3 separate regions of the Homo sapiens genome follow, and regions 1 and 3 are each linked to region 2. The links are contacts of gene promoters, found by promoter capture Hi-C in human tissues and cell types (Jung and others, 2019). All regions are on one chromosome and are shown on one strand. Each heading gives the region's core, a stretch centred on a gene start or on the middle of the fragment in contact. The rest is flanking DNA. Distances are from core to core; before and after follow the strand shown. Region 1 overlaps DDX46 (DEAD-box helicase 46). Region 2 holds the start of C5orf24 (chromosome 5 open reading frame 24). Region 3 overlaps DDX46 (DEAD-box helicase 46).

Evidence for each region. The method cuts DNA at HindIII sites, captures the fragments that hold promoters and counts their contacts. A contact is called where the count stands out against the background at its distance.
Region 1: a fragment that was not itself captured here is called in contact with the fragment with the promoter of C5orf24 in region 2 in 1 of the 25 tissues and cell types used here (lymphoblastoid cells).
Region 3: a contact is called between a fragment that was not itself captured here and the fragment with the promoter of C5orf24 in region 2, in 1 of the 25 tissues and cell types used here (thymus).

The regions. Positions count from the first base shown.
Region 1 is chr5:134,788,428-134,792,243 of GRCh38, reverse strand. DDX46 (DEAD-box helicase 46) reads right to left here. Exons shown (of 23, transcript NM_001300860.2): 12 at 3,653-3,731; 13 at 1,692-1,774. Among named protein-coding and RNA genes, the nearest start is that of DDX46, 32 kb to the right of the region's middle. The HindIII fragment of the contact is 3,195 bases long and covers 1-3,048 here.
Region 2 is chr5:134,843,943-134,847,391 of GRCh38, reverse strand. It overlaps C5orf24 (chromosome 5 open reading frame 24), which reads right to left and starts at 1,424. Exons shown (of 2, transcript NM_001135586.1): 1 at 1,180-1,424. RefSeq lists silencers at 999-1,048, 1,079-1,458 and an enhancer at 978-1,713. The HindIII fragment of the contact is 2,814 bases long and covers 953-3,449 here.
Region 3 is chr5:134,806,388-134,810,340 of GRCh38, reverse strand. It overlaps DDX46 (DEAD-box helicase 46), which reads right to left. Exons shown (of 23, transcript NM_001300860.2): 16 at 2,400-2,593. Among named protein-coding and RNA genes, the nearest start is that of C5orf24, 38 kb to the left of the region's middle. The HindIII fragment of the contact is 9,378 bases long and covers 1-3,953 here.

The sequences.
Region 1 (3,816 bases), core at 202-2,701, 55 kb after region 2:
ATGCTATCTTATCTTCTACTCAAAGCTGATTATTATTACTATTATTATTATTATATTATTATTTTTTGAGACTAAGTCTCGTTCTATCACCCAGGCTTAAGTACAGTAATGCGATCTCGGCTCCCTACACCCTGTGCCTCCCAGGTTCAAGTGATCCTCCTGACTCAGCCTCCCAAGTAGCTGGGATTACAGGCGCCCGTCACCATGTCCAGCTAATTTTTGTATTTTTAGTAGAAACGGGGTTTCACGATGTTGGCCAGGCTAGGCTGATCTCCTGACTTCAAGTGATCTGCCTGCCTCGGCCTCCCAAATTGCTGGGATTAAAGGCATGAGCCACCATTCCCTGCCCAAAGCTAAATATCATTTTAACTGTTTCGCATATGGTTCAAGCATTACCATAATCCTGCTTCCTCTGTGTTCCTCTATTTACATCTCATTTAGAATGCAGTCCCTAAATCTAAATACAATACATGCACTAACATATAACTGGCAATAAATTTTTGGAGAGTACATGGATAAACTGAAAAGGCTAAATATGACATTTGCCTTATCCCTTTTCCATGCACATTTCCATTACTATGGTCTCTTATAATCCTTTTTTATTCATTTTTTGGCAACTACAGCCTACTGACAATTCACAATGATCTTCTTAAGAAAACCTTCTACCACTTTTTTTTTTTTTTGAGACGGAGTCTCGCTCTGTCTCCCAGGCTGGAGTGCAACAGCGTGATCTCAGCTCACTGCAAGCTCCGCCGCCCGGGTTCACGCCATTCTCCTGCCTCAGCCTCCTGAGTAGCTGGGACTACAGGCGCCTGCCACCAAGCCCGGCTAATTTTTTTGTATTTTTAGTAGATATGAGGTTTCACCGTGAAAGCCAGGATGGTCTCGATCTCCTGACCTCATCTACCACCTTTAAAATGTGTTCCTATAAATGTGTATCACTGAAATTTTGTACCTGAGCAAAGAGCATATATAAGGAACATAAAAACCTAAGCTAGATAAATTCTTTGGGCCATTATCTTAGCAAACGTGAATGACTTTGGTAAACGTAAATGACGTGCTATCTAGACTAGATAATGAGGTATCTAAAAGCATGAATTAAAAGAATTTATTTAAAAAGACAATGGGCCGGGCACAGTGGCTCACGCCTGTAATCCCAACACTTTGGGAGGCCAAGGCGGGTGGATCACCTGAGGTCAGGAGTTCGAGACCAGCCTGGCCAACGTGGTGAAACTCCATCTCTATTAAAAAGTTAACCGGGCGTGGTGGCGGGCACCTGTAGTCCCAGGTACTCGGGAGGCTGAGGCAGGAGAATCGCTTGAACCCAGGAGGCAGAGGTTGCAGTGAGTAGTGATCGTTCTCCACTGCACTGCAGTCTGGGCGACAGAGCAAGACTCCATCTGAAAAAAAAAAATAAGGCTTAAGCTCTATTATTAGCACTCCAATTCTAGCTTTGTTGGTGTTGGTCTTAGATGGCTAAGAAATGCCGGTATAAATACCTCCTGAAGAAGTTTTGTGAGGAATCTGAAACATAAATATGTACTTCAATACTGTATGTCCCCAGTCTTCTGTATTACCGTGCAACAGAAAAGTGTGTGTGTGAATTTCAGAAACCACATGAACATTTCATTCTCATGGCAACTACAAAGTTATATTTACATTTCAAAACACTTAAGAAATTTAATGATTACCTGGGGTTCAAAACCCATGTCAAACATTCTGTCTGCTTCATCTAAAACAACATATGTCACTCTTCGAAGATTTGTGACCCGACCTAAGATGAAAAGAAAAATAAAGACAAAAAGAAAACTAAAAATCAGTCACAATTCATTTTATGGCTACCAAGAACTTTTAAAAACTGTAAAGGAAACTAAAATGCCTGACTTAACCAGAGGGGTAAGTTAGGTATCTTTAAAAAGTGAAAAGAAATTTTGATCTACAATGTCTTAATCTAGTGGCAAATACTTTCTGACAATGGGTATATGAGGCCCTTTATTTTGTCAAACTCGTCTCTTGCATACCATCATAGGGCCTGAAGAACCTGTAAAATTCAGAAAACAGCCCTCTCCAAAACACATCATAAAACTAAGACTGAGATGAAGCATCGAGCCACATCAGCCATTATCTGACAGCATCACCTAGAAAAAAACATATTAGAGATTACAGCGTATGTGTGGAAAGCAAGTTCTAGTGCTAACTATTTTAGACACAGAAAATGTCTCTCTATATTATTTTATAACCTACTTCCATATATTTAGAAGCTTCTTAAATGGGCATGTCAAACCCTTAATGAGAAGCTATTTGACAGCATTAGGAAATTAAAGTATCACACAAAAACTTTAAATACCAAAACACATTACATAAATACATTTTCCATACAAAGATATAAATCCCAATTTTATTAAGTGAACCCACTGACTTAAATAAATGCAACTGGCTTCCTAACCAGTGAAAACAAAATACATACATAGGAAATTCCTTCTAAAATATTAACAGAAGCATTGCTATCAACTGTTGAATCAATCACCTGGCAAAAACACGTATAAAATAGTTATTTAAAAATAGACCACAATGACAGATAAGAGAAAAAGGTAAAATTAATCAAGATGAATTTCAGGAGGAGACTTAATCAATGCAGCATTGAGAAAAAAAAAAAGGGATTATTTAATCAGCATTCAAACCAAAACTTTCCATATGCTAGACAAGCACAATGACTTCTCAATTTCGATGTCACTTTGCCAACTTCATGTACAATTAGAATTAGAAATTCAAGCAGAATACTACTAGAAACATGCACTAACTCAGTTTTTAATACTCTATTATGTACACACTAAATATTGCAATGGAAACCTCTGAGAGCATTTTCTTCAAAAAATAAAAAGTGCCAAAATAAGTGCTATCTAATATTTAAGTATTCCACACTAGCATTTGTAGCCCCAATTAGTTTTGCAAGGTCGGGAACAGCATTAAATTACCTACCTTTGATGGTTTAAGTCTCGGAAGCCCAGTTCTATAAATCTTGAAGGGCCTTTCTCCACAGAAGTTAAATAATGTCAACAGTTTAGTAAGAGTTTTGATAGGGAATAATTTAACAAAGCATAACATTTGAGCTACAAACATGCAATATTTACAAAAGATAAAATTTCTTGAAGCTGCAATATCTTAATTTATGTAGTATCTAAGAAAATACTAGCTCATGTGGAGAAAAAGTCTAAATTTTGTAATAAAGAAAAAGCTACTACCCCACTCTTTTACTAAGCAAAGCCAGGCCAAAACTGGATTAAGAATCCAAGTTATGATCAGATGGAGTTACTTCTGAAAAAAAATTTTAAATTGCAAAAATATCATTAATGCTTGTAATAATCAACTTGTTACAATTATTATTTTTTTTTTTTGAGACGGAGTCTTACTCTGTCACCCAGGCTGGAGTACAGTGGTGCGATCTTGGCTCACTGCAAGCTCCGCCTCCCGGGTTCAAGCTATTCTCCTGCCTCAGCCTCCCAAGTAGCTGGGACTACAGGCTACAAATTTTAAGATACTGCAGCTTTAAGAAGAAATATAGAAACCCTTTGTTGGTTTCTTGCATCTGTTTTAACAAAAAAAAGTAAAGAATTCAAAAATAAAAGACACCAAAAAAATACCCCTGACTTACCACTGTTAGCGGCTAACATGTCAATCATTCGACCAGGTGTGCAAACAATAATTTCAGCACCTCTTTTCAGCTCAGCAATCTAATAAAAAAGATGAAACTTTATAGTCTATTACTAATGCTTACTTAAACACTAAAAAATACTGCATTTAGTTCTTGCCTAGTCT
Region 2 (3,449 bases), core at 175-2,674:
CCCGGGAGGCAGAGGTTGCAGTGAGCCGCGATCGCGCCACTGTACTCCAGCCTGGGGGACAGAGTGAGACTCCGTTTCAAAAAAAACAAAACAAACAAAAACAACCAATAAATAGTTCCCTGAATGTACAGGAGTCAACTAAGAGCTTCTATATATTTGGACTGTGACTAAATTCGAATACTTAAAGCATAAGCTAAAACTTACCATCCTTGAAGTTGTTTTATTGTGTTTAACTCCTAAAGTTTAACCCCTAAAATGAGCCGTTCTTTATAGAACAATTCCTTTCTCTTCTCTTGAATGTGGCAGTCATTACTGCCAACATAAAGAAATGTAACTATTTTTAGTAACTTCACAAAGCATCCCTGAAGCTTTCTAAACATGGAGAAAGCTTCCTTTCAAGAAACCCAAGTTCTGTTCTCCAAAGATCAAAGATCACGTAATTCTCAGAGATTTATTTCAGGTCATTTGACTAACTATTATGTATAATCATATACGTTTCATAATTCTAAATGAAGATTTGCAACTCACCTCAATCACTCTGAAAGTCCATTCAGCAGAGGCCAATAGCCACGCACCCTGCCCCACCACGGAAAGTTTTGATAATAGGACGGCACATAAATAACGGCCTCCTTTGTCTTCTTCCTGCTCCTTAACTGTGCCCCACGGTGCACAAATAAGGACTCTCCTTATTTTGACACGAGGCGTTTAGAATGTATTACCTGTTGTGTGCTGAAAGCGACTATTAGCGTATTGGCAATAACAAGTTTGCAGAAGATGCACGCCACCCTAGAGAAAGGGTTGTGTACCCTCTAAAAAGCAAAATTCATAAGCCGCTATCCGTCCACTCGGAGTTCCGCAAGCGTAGAAGTCCACGGGCACTCCATCGCGACGCCGATCTCGAGCCGGCAGGCTTTTATTTAAAGGCGAAGGGCGGACTGCGGATTCTGACCTCTCAAAGAAAAGAAAGGGGGCTCCCTCCCCCCGCCGCAGGAGGAATGTCCCCCCGTAATGGCTCCACACCGGGGAAGAGCAGGCTACGTCCGGGGCCCCTCCTCTCACTCCGGCTACACTAGGGCCCCTTGGCAGGAGGCCTCTTCTCCCCGGTCAGCGAGGCGCCCGTTCTCGCCGCCGCCCTACCCCGCTCCCGGCCGGCTGACCAGCCCGCGCACCCCTACCTACCTCAGCCGCTCGTAGCCCGGCCCCTCGGCGCGTCTAGGGGCTTCCCAGCGGCTGGGAACCTCGTGCTGGCGCCGCTCCCTCCCCAGCCCGCCGCCTCTGCACGGTGCGGAGAACGGGCCAAGACGGAGTGGCAGGCAGCGAGGGCGGCGGCGAGGCAGGCGCTGGCTCCCAGCACCCGCCGCGGCCGCCGCGCACGGTCCTGCCCCGGACGCAGTACGAAGAGGCCGCTACCACCCTGTAGTGTTAGAGGCGGCGTGCGCGAGCTCGCGAGGGCCGCGCACGCACACGCTCACTCGCATCGCGAGACCCGATCTCCCGCCGCCAACCTGCACGCAAGCTTTGGGAGGGAGCCAGGCTGGCAGGCTGCGCTTGCGCGTCGTGGCCTTAAGCCTGAGCTGCTGGTGATCCGGCGTGGACCGTCCCCAGTGGCTGGGGTTGAGGAACCCACCAAATGGGGAATTAATAACTTCCTTACTTGTATTGGTTTTCACCACAATTCTGAGATGCTGGAACTCCTGCTGACCCCATTTCTTAGATACAGGACAAATAAATGATAGTCAGGGGAGTTGGGACTCTTCATGCCCAGGATCATGTGATAATGAAAAGCTTTATTTTATGGGACATCCTATGATCCACGCAGATTACAGGCGTAAGCCACCACGCCCCAGGAATTGTCGCATTCATTATTCCATAATCACAGGAAAGGATGGAACAACAAACTACCGCTATTATGTTTTTCTTGTGAGATATCTGACATATCAGTCACCTCACACAAACCCACTTAGAAGGGATTCATTTCCTCACTCCTTCCTCCTGTGAATTTCCAGATGTCAGAATGGAGAGGATCCAGAATTAGGGCAGCTACTGAAAGGGAGACACTTTATTAAGCAGTGGGAAGAGGCTAGAGGAGGATGCTTGCCCTTTTCCCCCATGTAATGAAGGATATTTGAGGATGGACAATTCATAGAACTGAGTTCTACCATAAGCACAGCCCTGAGCCAGGTACTGCCCTGCCAGTAGGAAAGAAAGGAGGAGAAACAACTTTTCTGGACAAACACACAAGCCAGGACACAACACACGAAACAAGCAAGCCCATTCATTCAAACTACTGAGGGACTGGAGACAGATAAGCCATGTGAACAGTTGATCAAACCTACACCAATAAAAACTCTGGACAGCCTGGGTGCGGTGGCTCACGCCTGTAATCCCAGCACTTTGGGAGGCCGAGGCGGGCAGATCACGAGGTCAGGAGTTCGAAACAAGCCTGACTAACATGGTGAAACCCCTTCTCTACTAAAAATACGAAAATTAGTTGGGCATGGTGGTGCGCACCTGTAATCCCAGCTACTCGGAAGGCTGAGGCAGGAGGATCGCTTGAACCCAGGAGGTGGAGGTTGCTGTGAGCCGAGATCGCACCACTGCACTCCAGCCTGGGACAGAACGAGACTCCGTCTCAAACAAACAAACAACAACAACAACAAAAAACTCTGGACACAAAGCTCAGGTGGAATTCCCTGGTTGGGAAGCTAGGATTTTTTTGGCAGACGGAGATTCATAACATGATTCTAAACATCATTCCAACTAGGTGGAGTGATTCACACCTGTAATCCCAGGACTTTGGGAGGCCAAAGCAGGAGGCCAGGAGTTTGAGACCAGCCTGGACAATATAGAGAGATTCTGTCTCTACAAAAAATAAAACAATTAGCTGGGTGTGGTGATGAGTACTTGTAGTGCCAGCTGCTACGGAGGCTGAGACAGAAGGAAGGACTGAGATAGGAGGAAGGAGACTGAGGCTTCCTTAAGCTGTGTTTGTGCCACTGCACTCCAGCCTGGGCAACAGAGTGAGACCCTGTCTCAAAAAAATAAAATGCTAAAAAAACAGGATTAATCATGCTAGTGTTATTTATATGTAAAAGGAAAATACCAATATAGAAAAGTTAAAATATGTACACAGATTTTAAGGCATATTAAGTAGCCTATCTAAAAACAAGTTTTTTTTCTAAGCAAGGTTTTTTTGCTCTTGAGGTGGAGCACTCCCATACCATATAATCACTATTCCAAATCTGTAACTCTAAACTCTTGTCTGAAATGGCATTTGTACATAAAAACATTTAAGAAAAAGAAATTTTCATTCTAAAAAAGTCAAGTAATTTGCAGGCCCAATGGAGGGGTAGCCAGAATAACAAAGAAGTCAGGCAGCCCTGAGTTTGAATGCCTTTCTGCCACTTGCCTCCCATGGTATTTTGGGCAAGTCATTGCTCCACCAAAAG
Region 3 (3,953 bases), core at 1,121-3,620, 38 kb after region 2:
ACATAGGTAATTTTACACAAATGCACAATTGTGTGGTCATACCTTTTGATTTTGTTTTTTGTTTTTCCTTTTTTTTTTTGAGATGGAGTCTCGCTAGAGTTTGCTATCTTCACAAAACAATCTGACCTTGCTGGGTACAATGGCTCACACCTGTAATCCCAGCACTTGGGGAGGCAGAGGTGGAAAGATAGCTTGAGCCTAGGAGTTGGAGGCCAGCCTGGGCAAAAATGGCAAGACCACATCTCCACAAAAATGTAAAAAACAAAACCAAAAAAACAATCTGACCCAAACAGTCAACTGTTGCGATTTTTTGTTTGTTTGTTTCTGAGACAAGAGTTTTGCTCCTGCTGCCCAGGCTGGAGTGCAATGGCACAATCTTGGTTCATCGCAACCTCTGCCTCCCGGGTTCAAGCTATTCTCCTGCCTCAGCCTCCCGAGTAGCTCGGATTACAGGCATATGCCACCATGCCCGGCTAATTTTTTATTTTTATTTTAGTAGAAACAGGGTTTCTCCATGTTGGTCAGGCTGGTCTTGAACTCCCAACCTCAGGTGATCCGCCCGCCTCGGCCTCCCAAAGTGCTGGGATTACAGGCGTGAGCCACCGCGCCCGGCCAACTGTTACGAATTTTAAAACATGGTTTAAGATTTTAATTCAGAAATATCTTGGCCGGGTGCAGTGGCTCATGCCTGTAATCCCAGTATTTTGAGAGGCCAAGGCGGGCAGATCACGAGGTCAGGAGATCGAGACCATCCTGGCTAACACAGGTTTTAGTAGAAACCCCGTCTCTACTAAAAATACAAAAAATTAGCCAGGCGTGGTGGCACACGCCTGTAGTCCCAGCTACTTGGGACACTGAGGCAGGAGAATCGTTTGAACCTGGGAGGGAGAGGTTGCAGTGAGCCAAGATCATGCCACTGCACTCCAGTCTGGGCAACAGAGCGAGACTCCATCTCAAAAAAACAAAAACAAAAACAGAAATATCTAAATAGCCACTGCCTTTGACCCATGGTCTGCTTTTGTACTCCTACGGGGCTACAAGTATTTACATTTTTATAGGGTTATGAACATATATACAATAACACATATATATACAGAGAAGGAGAGAGAAAGAGAAGAATATGTGACAGAGCCCAAATAGGCTACAATTTTCAGTACATGGCCCTTTCCAAAAAAATATTCTTGACTCCTTCCAACAGGTTAGAAGAATAAATGCCATTACTACTTATTAAATGTGCATAAGCAGGTGAGCTAAATCCTATGTGCATGAATTTTTCTCATCTATAAAATAGAGTAATATTATTTACCTCAAAGGAAAGTTTTAAGGATAAAATGACATTACATATGTAAAACACTTAAATCGTTTTAAGGATAAAATGACATTATATATGTAAGGATAAAATAACATTATATATGTAAAACAGTTAAAATGACATTATATATGGCAGATAATACGTTATCCATTAATGTAAGCTATGGCATATAAATACTACTTATTGCTTTATTATGCAATGTACAGGGTTAGAAAATTAAATATATCATAATCAATGTCTCCAACAACAGACTAGTCTGCTGCCTCTAGAAGGAATGAGTTAGACCCATACAGTTTCTAGAATACAGGTGAGTCAAAAAAGCAAGTAACATATGTATGTATGAATGATAGGGAGGTAAAGAGGGGAGTAGGAGAAATTGGTAGGTGTGGAGATGGGTATATTTTATGATCCCATGTTTTTTTTTAAAAAAAGATCCTGAAGTATAAACATTTATGTGTATGTGTATACAGATGGTCCCCGACTTACAATGATTCAATTTATAATTTTTCAACTTTACCATGGTGCAAAAGTGATATGCATTCAGTAGAAATTGTACTTTGAGTACCTATACAACCAGTTTTTCACTTCCAGTACAGTATTCAGTAAATTACATGAGATATTCAATACTTTATTATAAAATAGGCTTTGTGTTAGATGATGATGCCCAAGTATAACCTAATGTAAGTGTTCTGAGCATGCTAAAGGTAGGCTAGGCTACTATGATGTTTAGTACGTCAGGTATATTAAATGCATTTTCAACTTACGATGGGTTTATCGGGACATTGTAACCCCATCATAAATCAAGGAACATCTGTATAGAAACGTTTAGGCATGAGGGGAAAAACCTAAAAGGGAAGACAAACTGTTAACAGGATCTGCCTACAAAGAGCAGCTAGGTATCTGATAATTTGAACAACACTTAGACCTGTACATGTATATAAATTATTAACATCAACCACTCTTCACATTATGTGGATTAAAGATTTTCAAAATGTCTCCATAACTCCTATTATCTACTCCTTGAAATACTAAAGAAACACCTGTATTTTAATATAATGAAGATCAACTATAAAAAACTTATTTTTACCTTGTTTCCTGCTCTTCCAGTCCGCCCTGCTCTGTGTACATAATCCTCATAATGGTTGGGGCAGCTATAATTTACTACAAGAATCAGATGTTTCACATCTAGACCTCGGGCAGCAACAGAGGTAGCCACAAGAAGTTTGCAGGTCCCATTCTTAAAGTCATTTATGATGCTATCTCTGTCATATTGATCAATGCCTGCAAGTAAATTAGAGAGCTTTAAAACATGTTCAAATTAAATTTTCCATGTCTTCTGACCAAGAATCTAAACTCAGTGAAGAACAAATTGACACATCCAACTCCTAAAATATAGAAAATAAAAGACTAAGAAAATGTAATGGCAAGATTAAAGGTTATTGCTATTAACTCATTTATGAATCTTTCAACTCTGGTCTTGTATTGCCCCCTTTCTTCTATATAAGGTTTATATTTGCAAAGGTCCAATATCAGAAATTAATCTAAACCTGTTTGGGAGCCAAAGCGAGAAAAGGCAGAAACATTCAGCCTATATTGACAAGAGTTAGATCTTTCTCCTTTCCCTGTAGGTTATTTAGAGCCTTGCTACTCGGTTTTGTCCAAGGACCAGAGCAGCATCACCTGGGAGCTTGTTAGAAATGCAGAATCTAGGCCAGGTGCGGTGGCTCATGCCTGTAATCCCAGCACTTTGAGAGGCCGAGGCGGGCAGATCATGAGGTCAGGAGTTCGAGACCAGCCTGACCAACATGGTGAAACCCCGTCTCTACTAAAAATACAAAAAAAAAAAAAAAAAAGCCAGGCGTGGTGGCACATGCCTGAACCTGGGAGGCAAAGGTTGCCGTGAGCCGAGATTGCGCCACTGCACTCCAGCCCAGGCGACAGAGCATGACTCTGTCTCGGGGAAAAAAAAAAAAAAGGAAATGCAGAATCTAGGGTTATACTCCAAACTACCGAATCAAAATCTGCATTTTAAAAAACCTTAGGTGATTATCATATGCAAATTAAAGTTTTAGGAATACTGGTTTAGAAGTACCCAAATGGATATCTCTTAAATAAATGATCCAAAGAGGTTTAGTATGAATGGCAAAGCAGAGTATAAAATACCATAAAGTTCTATTACGACATGCCCAGACCACAAAATATTTTATGATGAGGTTCCCAGGAAACTCTGGTAATAGAGAAGGGAATAAGATAAACTCTCAAAACTTAAAACTCATGCTTTCAATGGAAGATTTCACAGAAAATCTGGGTTTAACATACACTGTTTAGCACGTAAATAATTACCAATATTAATTCTTAGTACTACCTAAAATTTTAAAGGTACTCTTCAAGGATTGATTTAAAGGAAGTATTTGAATCATTGTCAAAGAAACTGGAATCTAACACTTCACCAAAAAAATTGCCTAAGAAAATTTAATGAAATCAATATCAATATAAATTTGTTTATAATTTGAAAATACCAAAACTTTTACTTTAGCCTAAAGTATCCTTACTAACATAATCACATAAAATTGATTCCTTAGAATTGAATATAATATGCTAACTGAAGCAGCATATGGGATGTCAACCCAAAAACCATGAA